Linked DNA regions of Homo sapiens: region 1 is linked to region 2. The links are contacts of gene promoters, found by promoter capture Hi-C in blood cells and fetal thymus (Javierre and others, 2016). All regions are on one chromosome and are shown on one strand. The core of a region is centred on a gene start or on the middle of the fragment in contact, and the rest is flanking DNA. Distances in the headings are between cores, read along the strand shown.

Region 1 (5,205 bases), core at 645-3,144, 250 kb after region 2:
CTCTTATGTGGTCCACCAGTGGTACATAACATGAACCTTTATAGCAAGGGGAAAGGTCTTTAAAGCCTGAAAATAAATGTGATGAAGATTTATTCTTTATCATCAGTACTAGACATGATTTTCTCCTTCCCTTTAATAAAGTATTTGAGTAGAAGTATGTTCTAGGAAGACTAGAAGAGAATATAACTTGTTTACCAAGATATTTAAATTAAGTAATTTGATAGGTGTTTTAAAAATTAGAGTAAACAGCTGGTCATGATAGTATGTGCCTATAGTCCCAGCTACTTGGGAGGCTCAGGCAGGAGGATTGCTTGAGCCCAGGAGTTCCAGGCAGCCTGGGCAACATAGCAAGACCTCAACTCTTTTTTAAAAAATATTAAGTAAATGGTGTAACGGAACTCCTTTAAAATATGTCTTTATGTTCTTTTAGCGTAAGAGACCCATACAGAAAGTAGAAATGGGTACATCAAGTCAGAATGATGTTGACATGAGTTGGATTCCTCAGGAAACATTGAATCAAATCAGTAAGTAGTCTTACAGACTTGGCTGGGAAGTTTTTCTCTTAAGTGGAAATTAAATACCTTAGATTTAGTTTAAAAAAAAAACTTTTTCAGTACTATTTAACATTCATCTTTTCCATTACTTGTGTAGAATCTAGTATAGTGATTAATTAAGACCTTAAAGGTTTATTCAGTGTGTAGTCTTCTTATGCTTTAATTTGGAAATTCTTCCAGATCTGCAGCTTATTTATGAATGTGTGAATTTTCTGTGTTCCTAATCCATTTCCTGTCTCTTTTCTTTCTGTTGCTTCAGTGCAGAGTAGAAGAGGTGAGGCATTTAATTTTTTTAATGGTTTTTGCTAGAGAATTGGGGGCTCTCAAATAGCACGTAAATATTTTACGTCAAGTTTAATGAGTAATGGAACAATTTTTCTTACTACATTTTATTAGAAAAACTACCCAGTATAACTTGAAAGAATAAACCTAAAATATTACCCGACAATTTATTTTACAGATACATTTCAGTTTTATTACATATTCAGTTAAAATACTAACCTTTATAAAAGAATATAGAAATGTTTCTTCAATTGTAGGACATTTTAAAAATGTTTATTATAAAACCAATGCAGCCTCATTATAAAAAATTAAATAGTACAGAAGTGAAAAAAATAAGTCAATTCCTGACTTCATTAATCCTATTTATTTATTTATTTATTTATTTATTTGAGATGGAATCTTGCTCTGTCGCCCAGGCTGGAGTGCAGTGGCATGGTCTTGGCTCACTGCTACCTCCGCCTCCTGGGTTCGAGTGATTCTCCTGCCTCAGCTTCCCAAGTAGCTGGGATTACAGGCACGTGCCACCACGCCCGGCTAATTTTTTTTGTATTTTTAGTAGAGACAGGGTTTCACCATGTTGGCCTGGCTGGCTTCGACCTCCTGACCTCAAGTGATCCGCTAGCCTCGGCCTCCCAAAGTCCTGGGATTACAGGCGTGAGCCACCACGCCCGGCCCTATTTTTCATAAATGGTATTATGTTTATATTTTCCATTAATTTCTATATATCTATAAGCATATACGCCTATTGTTTTTATGTGAGTATTTAGTTCAGATTGCATCATGCTGTCTACAACTTCAGTTTTCATACCTTGGATGTCTCTTTGTAGTAACTACATAAATATTTACTAAACTGTTTTTTTACAACTAGACAATATTATTTTATATATATATGTATGTCATGATAGATTAAACCTGTTCTGTATTGGAAGGATATTGGTTACTTTTATTTTTTCACTCCTACAGATGATACTGTAATGAATATTCTTATATATAAATTTATAGGATAACTTCTTAAAGGTAGAGTAACTAGGTCTAAGATTAAATACACTGAATTTTTATGGAAGGGACCCCATTTCCCTCCTAAAAGGGGAAAAAAAGGTAGTGCCAATTTATGTTCTCAACCATGCACAATATTGCCTATTTAATCTGTCGGTATGATATAAAATGAGTGTCTTACTGTTTCATTTGCATTTCTTTAAGAATGAGGTTCAGCTCCTTTATACATATTCATAGTTGACCCTTGAAAGACACAGGTTTGAACTGCTTGGGTTTCACTTTATATACAGATTTTTTCAATATAATTGACCCTCGGTATATTGGTGGGTTCCACATCTGCAACCAAAAGCAGATAAAAAATACAATATTTGGCCAGGCGTGGTGGTTCACACCTGTAATCCCAGCACTTTGGGAGGCTGAGGCAGGAGGATCGCCTGAGCCCAGGAGTTTGAGACTAGCCTTGGCAACATAGTGAGACCCCATCTCTACAAAGAATGAAAAAAAAATACATGTGTTGACGTGCGCCTAGGCTGAGGTGGGAGGATTGCTTGAGCCTGGTAGGTCCGTGATTGCTCCATGATGGTGCCACTGCACTCCAGCCTGGGTGACAGTGAGACTCTGTCTCAAAAGAAAAGGTGGGGGTGGGGAGGAAAGGAAATCATTGAGGAGCTAAGCTCTGAGGACGCAGAGGCATAAGAATGATATAATGGACTTTTGGGACTCGGGGAAGGGTAGGAGGGGGGTGAGGGATAAAAGACTACACATGGGTTATCGTATACACAGCTTGGGTGATGGATGCGCCAGAGTCTCAGAAGTCACCACTAAAGAACTTACCCATGTAGCCAAACACCATCTGTCCCTCAAAACTAGTGAAATAATAGTAAAATAAAATCTATTAAAAAAAAAAAAAGGAAATCACAGTTTTTGCAGGATACCAAACCTAAGTACAGGGAAGGCTTTTTGTATCCACCGGTTCCTCAGTGCTGACAGCGGAACTTCAGTATGCCTGGATTTGGGTGGGGTTGCCGTGGGGGAGTAGTCCTGGAACTAATTTCCTGCAGATAATAGAGATGACTGTATTGGCTAGGGTTTCTTTTCCTGTGAATTGGCTGTTCAGGTCCTTTTCCATTTTTAAATTGTTTTCTCTACTGCTTTCTGTGAGCTAGCTGTCTCTTTCTGTGAGCTAGCTGTCATATTGCAGTATAGCAGTTGCTTTATGAAAGGTGGGTTCAAAGTAACAAGAGCACAGGAGGAGGTCAGCACTAGACCCGAGTCTTGAAAGGTTGGGTGAGAAGGAGTCTTTAAGGTTTTATGAGCTATGCTAACAACTTTTGACTCCTAGGTCAAAGAGCCACTTTAAAGGAGAGGAATTACAATTGTGTTTTAAAAATTATGGTAAGCTGGGCATGGTGGTGTGCACATGTAGTCTCAGCTACTGGAAATGTTAAGGCAGGAGGATCGCTTGAGCCCAGAAGTTCGAATCCAGCCTCGGCCACATAGCAAGTCTCCCATCTCTAAGAGAAAAAAAAGAAAAGAAAGGAAAAATTAGGATCACTTTGTGGAGGACTGCAAAGGAGCTGCTGGAAGCAGGGTTACCAGTTCCGCGATTTCAGTAAAGCACAGAAGTCACTGGGGCCTAAGCAGAGGCAGTGGTGATAGGAGTAAAAGGGAGTAGAAGGATGTTTCACAGGTGGAGTAGATGGGGTTTTTTATGACTGGATGTGTTAGTGAGGGAGGAATGAAAGAGCATTCTGAACTTAGGCAACTGGGTGAAAGCTGATCCCATTAATGTCCCATAATCTAGGAAAGAGAAGCATGGAAGGATGAGGAGAGATGTGTTTGGATTAGCTATGCTGAGTGTGAAAAACCTTTGGGACTCCCAGATAAGGATGTCCAGGAAACATTTGAAAGTTCTGTTTCAGAGCACAAGTGAATCAAGATTTGGAAACATTGGGACATATAGCATCAGTGGTAGCTCAAGTCATGGGAGCTACACATCTGTTTTTTTTTCTTTTGAGACAGGATCTCACTCTGTCACCCAGGCTGGAGTGCAGTTACGTGATCATGGCTCACTGCATCCTCGACCTCCTGGGCTCAATCCGCCCACCTCAGCCTCCCAAATAACTGGGACTACAGACGCACACCACCATGCCCAGCTGAATTTTTATATTTGTTGTAGGGAGGGGGTTTCACCATGTTGCCCAGGCTGGTCTTGAACTTACGGGCTCAAGTGATCTGTCTACCTCAGCCGCCCAAAGTGCTGGGATTATAGGTGTGAGCCACCATGCCCAGCTCACATCTGCATATAACAGTGATGCTCACACAGATGGCTGTTAAATCCTAGAGTACTTTTTGAATCCTCAAAAGACTATGTTCAGCATACTGCTTATTTGAAAAAGTTTTATTTAGAGATTGGTTGTCTGTAAGGGCAGTAGTTCCTAGTCTAACCTTTTTGAAAATCTGATAAAAGTTGTAGACTTTCTTCATCAGAAACATTTGTCTGTACTCACAGCTCAGTTTTAGGTAAGTTGAAGAGCCCCTGAAACCATCTATTAGTAACCTACTTAATGAAGTAGTGAGAGCAGTTTTCTGGGTTTTTTTCACACTTGAAAAGTGAGGGCAGTTTTCCTGTGATATGTAGGCTCTGTCTTAATATTTTAGCCCTTAACTTTTTTTATTTTTCTGAGACACGGAGTCTTGCTCTGTTGCCCAGGCTGCAGTGCAGTGGTGTGATCTCGGCTCACTGCAACCTCCGGCCCCTCGGTTCAAGTGATTCTCCTGCCTCAGCCTTCCAAGTAGCTGAGATCACAGGCGTGTACTGCCACACCTGGCTAATTTTTATAGTTTAGTAGAGATGGGATTTCATCATGTTGGCCAGGCTGGGCTGGTCTTGAACTCCTGACCTCAAATGATCTGCCTGCCTCAGCCTCCCAAAGTGCTGGGATTACAGGCATGAGCCACTGTGCCTGGCCTTAGCCCTTAATCTTAAGGAGATTTCTTTGAAAAATGTGTAGTCTTTAAATATTCTTGGCTGGGCCAGGTGTGATAGTGTGTGCCTGTAATCCCAGCTACTTGGGAGGCTGAGGCACGAAAATCGCTTAAACCCAGGAGGTGGAGAGCGGAGATCGTGGCACTGCACTCCAGCCTGGGCGACAGAGTGAGACTCTGTCTCAAAAAAAATAAATATTCTTGATAAACATTTACTCATTTTCTAGGCATGGTGATCTCATAATTTGGGGGGTGAGAGATCTTTTGAACAGATTTTTTTTTTCCATTTTATGAAATGCTTACAGATAAGCCCCATGCTTTGGTGAAAATCACTTTCTAGCCCTTCACTTTTTTTAACTGGAAAAAATGATTTTTATTTCTAACT
Region 2 (5,803 bases), core at 1-2,500:
TGGATCAAAGCAGACATGCGGCCGGCGCTCTGCGATCCAAGGCACACTGGGGTCTTTCATCCGGTGTTTTTAAAAAGGAGGAAACAAAAGGCTCAGAGGCAGGGCCCCAGGTGCGCTCGCCCGCGGGGGCTGCGGCGCGGACGACCGAAGGTAACAGGCACGTCCCGGCCGAACTTCGAGACCCGGGCCCGGCAGCCGCCCCGGCGGGGAAGTTTCGTTTCCCGGACAGGGGAAGCCGAAGCGCCTCCTCGGGACAGGACCCCGCGCCGCCGGGACGCGCAGCCTTGATACAAACGTCCTTGGGTGGCCGAGGAGTCCAGGAGTCGTTGCAGTCGTGGTCTCGGGGTTACTGGGGATTGGGGGTGAGCCGGTAGAGACTGCGGAGCCCCGAGCACCACTCGGCCACCAGACAGGACCGGGGCCCCGCTCCTTTCCTCTTTTACTTTGATTACGGTTGGAGAGGTTGGGTTTTGTGGTCGCAGCCCCACCTCGCCTGACCTCCCATTCGCGGGCTGGGACAAAGGCGGCTGCAGCCGTGTCCAGCAGGCAGGGGACAGCCCCGCGCGGGCCCGACGCCCCCTCTGACCACCCGCCCGGGCTCGCGGGAGGGGAGAAAGGTACGACCGAGTCCCTGTTCGCAGGACAGGGGCCAACCTGTCCCCGCACGCGTCAGGACACCCGGTCCTGCTCCCAGCGCGGCCGGGAAGTTCTTTCGGGACCTGGGGCAAAAAAACCTTTCCACCTTCGGGACCCGAGTCTCCCAGTCGTCCAGAGGAGGACGGTCCCTCCCTGTCCCGCGAGCCCCGCAGCCCGCGCTCTCCGGGCAGGTACCCACCAGTAGCCGTCCGAGTTCTGGTCGGTGATCACGCCGCGCCGAGAATAGTACATCCTGCTGGTGCCCCCGCCGCCGCTGGTCACCTCGTAGCGCAGGTCCGGGCCAGACTCGGCGCGGATCATGCGGCCCAGAGTGTTGATCCGCGGGTGGGAGCCTCCGTTGCAGCTCATGTCGGCGGGCAATCGGGAGAGCGGCTCAGCGCCGAGGCATAAGCGAGGCGGGCCGGCGCGGAGAAAGCGGAGGGGGCCAAGGATAGGCGGACGGCCGGGGAACCGGGCGGGAGTGCGGAAGGCTCGCGAGGTCGCTGCTCGCTACCTGGGCCCTCCCGAGGCCGCTGCGAGCGCGGAGACGGCGACGGGCCGGGGGCAGGAGCGGGAGGAAAGCTGTGGCTCGGAGGGCGGCAAGGGCGCAGAGGAGCTGCGTCGGAGCTGGGTGTTGGTGTTGGTCGGCGGCGGAGCGAGTCTCCTCCCCGCTGGCACTGGGCGCCTAGGCCACACCTGGCCGGTTTCTTCCCAGGGTGGGGTGCGGCCGCCGCGCCTTCCCCGCCCCCCCGCGGGTGTCACCGACGCGCTCCGGCCGCCCCTCCCCACCTGCGCCCGCCGCCCGCGACTCCGCCCTGCGCCACCGAGGCCTGAGTAACACCGGGCGGGGCGGGGGCGGGGTCCCCGAGACCCAAGCGCCCTGGGCGAAGCCACCGCGGGGAGGACCTGCGCTCGCGGGGGCTGCTGCGCTCTGCGCTGGGGCCTCTCGGGCTGGGAATGCGTGGCCCGGCTTTTGAGGATTTCCTCGGTCCCCGGGCGGAAATAGCTGGAATGGAGGGGCCTCTCGATTGGAGACTTACTGGTCAAATATTTACTTTTGTTGATCACTGGAAACGCTACCTACCACGCATTGACTAGGACCACAGTGAGGAGGGAACGCTTTAGATGATAGAGTTTTGTTTGGGGGCTTTTTTTTGTTTTGTTTTATTCCAGGAATTCAGGAAATTGCCCCAGAAGTCCGATTTCTGATGTGTAAAACCTTTTTTTACAGAAAACCACGACTTCCTGGAAAAGTCTTCACCGTAAATATTAATCTCTTTGGCATGAAGAGGAAAACACTGCAGCTAATTTTTCATGGGATAACAAAAATATAAACTGCAATTTCTTTTATTTTTTCCCTTTCGATGGTCTTTTTAAACGAGGAGTAAAGATTTCAACGCCAGGTCCATTTTCCAAATTTTGTACCAGAACCTTGAGGATGCTTGTCTCTCGCGCGCTTCTCCGCAGACCGAACCCTCTCCGGAACTCAGAGCTGTTCACCCAAGTCAGCGGAGGAGGCCTCCTGGGACTTGAGCCTGAGGGTGGCGAAGAACCCTAGGCAGAGATCATCAACTTGGTACCGATGAGTGACGCGGAGCTTGAACATTCCAGCGACTTGCTCCAGGGCCACTCCCAGTTAAGAGGCTGAGTGTTAACTGCAAGAGGCTGAGTGTTAACTACGCCGTTGGCTCCAGGAACCGAACCGGGTTTGGATACAGACCCAGTCACACCATCCATGAAAAGCTGTTTCTATAATATGAAAAATTGTTAAATGACGCTTTAGTAAAAGCCATTTAAAGATCTTTTCTAATAAATTTTTCATCTTTCCAAACAATGCCGCTAATTACCTTCTGATACAGTGCGTTTCCAAAATGTTTATGAACTGAAAACAAAAATAAAAAACTACATTTTTATGTTGTAAAGGGAGTGGGGGGGACTTTCTAAAATTTGTCGTATTATAGCACTTCTCATGACAACTTGACCCTTTAGGCATAATTTTTGACAAAATGTCTTGTTCTTTTTCTTTTTACAGCTGAACGTCTTAAATTCAAGGAGTAAACACATATAATGAGATAAAAGTTTATCACTGTTAGCACAACCAATAATTTGCATCGTAGTCTCAATTTCCTCGAATCTTTAATAAAACCAAAGTGGTCAAGTGTTTAAATGATTATACAGATTGAGTACCCCTTATCCAAAATGCTTGGGACCAGAAATATTTTGGATTCTGGATTTTCTTGGATTTTGCAATAGTTGCATAGACGTAACGAGAGATCTTTGGGGATGGAACTCAAGCCTAAACATGAAATTTATTTATGTTTTCTATATGCCTTATACACATGGCCTGAAGGTAATTTTATACAATATTTTAGATAATTTTGTGCATGAAACAAAGTTTTGACTGCACTTTGACTGCAAGTCATCACATGAGGTCAGGTGTGGAATTCGCCACTTGTGGTCATCATGTCAGTGCTCAGAAAGTTTGGATTTGGGAGCATTTTGGATTTCAGATTTTCAGATTAGGGATGCTCAACCTGTACAAACACTGATCTATAGACAAGACGGTGGTTTTTCTCAAACAGAATCAATGGCTGGAAGTCAGCCTCTGCACAAACAGCCCATAATATCCATTGGTGGAGGAGAGAAAGACATGCATGGAGGGAAAATGTCAGTGCATAATGTACAACATTTCATTTAGGATGTTTTCCCTCTATGCATCTCATTTGTTCAGCAAATAATTATAACCTAGGATATGGAAATACTCTGCAACATACAAAGATAAATAGGGTCCAGTCACTGCCCTTAAATATATTATAGTAAAACTTTGATTTAAGAAATTCAGGGGCCCGTGCGGTGGCTCATGCCTGTAATCCCAGCACTTTGGGAGGCAGAGGCGGGTGGATCACTTGAGGTCAGGAGTTCGAGACCAGCCTGGCCAACATGATGAAACCCCATCTCTACTAAAAATACAAAAATTAGCTGGGTGTGGTGGCAGGCGCCTGTAATCCTAGCTGTTTGGGAGGCAAAGGCACGAGTATCACTTGAATCCAGGAGGTGGAGATTATATTGAGCAGAGATCGTGTCATTGCACTGCAGCCCAGGTAACAGAGCAAGACTCTGTCTCAAAAAAAAAAAAAAAAAAAAAATTCAGGGATTATTCTTCCCTAATGTGTAATAAAGAGGCTACACAATTGCACGGTAGAATTATCCTTTTAAAAAAAACCCACATATCTATTAACCACCCCCCCAGTGGTAACAAAAGCTCTTGTTAGCCAAGGGTCCCCTTACGGTCATAGGAACCAGGCTCCACACAGACCCAAACACCACCCAGACTCACAAAACTGTTCAATCTGCAGGCAAAACAGAGGAGGAGGCGAAGAGCCCACGCCACCAATCACACCTCTGGCTGCGTTGCTTCCTCACCCATCTTACTGCTTCCTGGGCTTTTCCAGGCATCCCCAAGAACACGAACGGCTTCCAGCTACCAAACATGCCTGCTCTAGGAAGACAGTGGCTTTCATTTATCTTTCTCTAAGGGTGATAAAGAAAGATAAGAGGATAAAATAAACAGATTGACATGCCCGACAGATGGAACACCCCCCACCTCAACACACACCCACACACATGCACATACACACACACACACATCAGTTGTCCAGGTTGGCTCATCACACAGTGAAGAGCGAGGATAACTTGCCCATAGTTATAATCTTAGTGCTACAATTTACTTATGCAAGAGCTCAATTTCTTCATGTGTATAATGGAAATAACACTTGCTCTGCCAACCTTCCAAATCCACAGTGAGGGTCAAATGAGATAAAATACGTGAACATTCTTGAACACTGTGAAACATATAAAGCTTAAGGTACCACCTGTTAAGCCAAAAGTTCTTTGCTGGATGCGAAATTTTAACCGTTAATGTTCCTGTCTTTATCCCACATGTAAATCAGTAAACCTCCCTCTTGGACACATTTAAGATGCATTCATTTAGAAAGCAGTTATTGAACATCTACCATGTTACACAACAGATTCAATGCTAGACACATGAAGATGAATAAAGCATGACTCTTTTTCTGCAGGATATCAAAGTCTGCAGTAGTAAAACAAATAATTACAATACAACATTAAGTATGCTATAATGAAGGTATATTTATAGAATTTTGAAAGCGCAGCAAAGAGGTTTAAAAGTAGCTTGTTTTCTTACAACTTGGTTTAAAAAATCAGAATCCAAAGTCTGGCAGAGTCTTCACTGGCTGACCTAAGGTCAGCTATTTTTTCCCTGCCACTCATAGATAGCTCCCCTTGTACTGATAAAACAGATCACTGACAGGCAACTTTCTCTCTGGCTGACCTTAGAAATCACCTTGCAGTTAGGAAAGACGAATCAGTCATATTCAGAGCAGATTTTTAAAAGAAAACGACACTTTGATTTCAGTGAGATTAAGAAGAATCATTTACTTGCTCAAAATCCCATGGGAACTCTCTATATCTTTGTGTTGGTAAATGATACCTCTTCATCACAAGAAGATTTATAGCCCATGAGTTAAAATAACTGTTCTGCCTAACAGAGGAGTAGTTCTGGGGTTTTTGTTTTGTTTTGTTTTGTTTGAGACAGAGTCTCACACTTGTCGCCCAGCCTGGAGTGCAGTGGCATGATCTTGGCTCACTACAACCTCTGCCTTCTGAGCTCAAGTCATCCTCCTGCCTCAGCCTCCCCAGTAGCTGAGACTATAGGCGCACACCACCACACTGGACTAATTTTTGTATTTTTTGTAGATACAGGATTTCACCTTGTTGCCCAAGCTGATCTGGAACTCCTGGGCTCGAGCAATCCACCCACCTTGGCCTCCCAAAGTGCTGGGATTACCGGCATGAACCACAGTGCCCGGCCAAGGAGTAGTATTTTAATAAGTCAAAATTACAGGCAGAAGCTAGGATTGGAACCATAATGTGAAGGAAAAGAAAATGCCTGTTAAAATGTCAGACAATTAAAATCTTAATAATAAAATGGATATGTATATTTTACTCTTTCTTTTCTCTTCCATTTGTCTGAATAAATTAGAATCCTCCAGAAATAATGAATCTAGGATCTGAATTATCACAAAAATAAGATTGGTCTCTCCTAATTAAAATTGTCAAAATGAAGAAAGCTGTTTGACAAAGCTCG

The links. The method cuts DNA at HindIII sites, captures the fragments that hold promoters and counts their contacts. A CHiCAGO score of 5 or more calls a contact.
Region 1: a fragment that was not itself captured here is called in contact with the fragment with the promoter of DSP in region 2 in 1 of 17 cell types (naive B cells); the score reaches 5.5 in naive B cells.

The regions. Positions count from the first base shown.
Region 1 is chr6:7,290,711-7,295,915 of GRCh38, reverse strand. SSR1 (signal sequence receptor subunit 1) reads left to right here. Exons shown (of 8, transcript NM_003144.5): 7 at 431-524. Among named protein-coding and RNA genes, the nearest start is that of SSR1, 20 kb to the left of the region's middle. The HindIII fragment of the contact is 8,134 bases long and covers 1-5,205 here.
Region 2 is chr6:7,537,118-7,542,920 of GRCh38, reverse strand. DSP (desmoplakin) reads right to left here and starts at 1,250. Exons shown (of 24, transcript NM_004415.4): 1 at 836-1,250. The coding sequence starts at 1,005. It overlaps DSP-AS1 (DSP antisense RNA 1), which reads left to right. Exons shown (of 2, transcript NR_183331.1): 2 at 1,868-2,470. RefSeq lists an enhancer at 3,262-5,803. The HindIII fragment of the contact is 6,836 bases long and covers 1-4,497 here.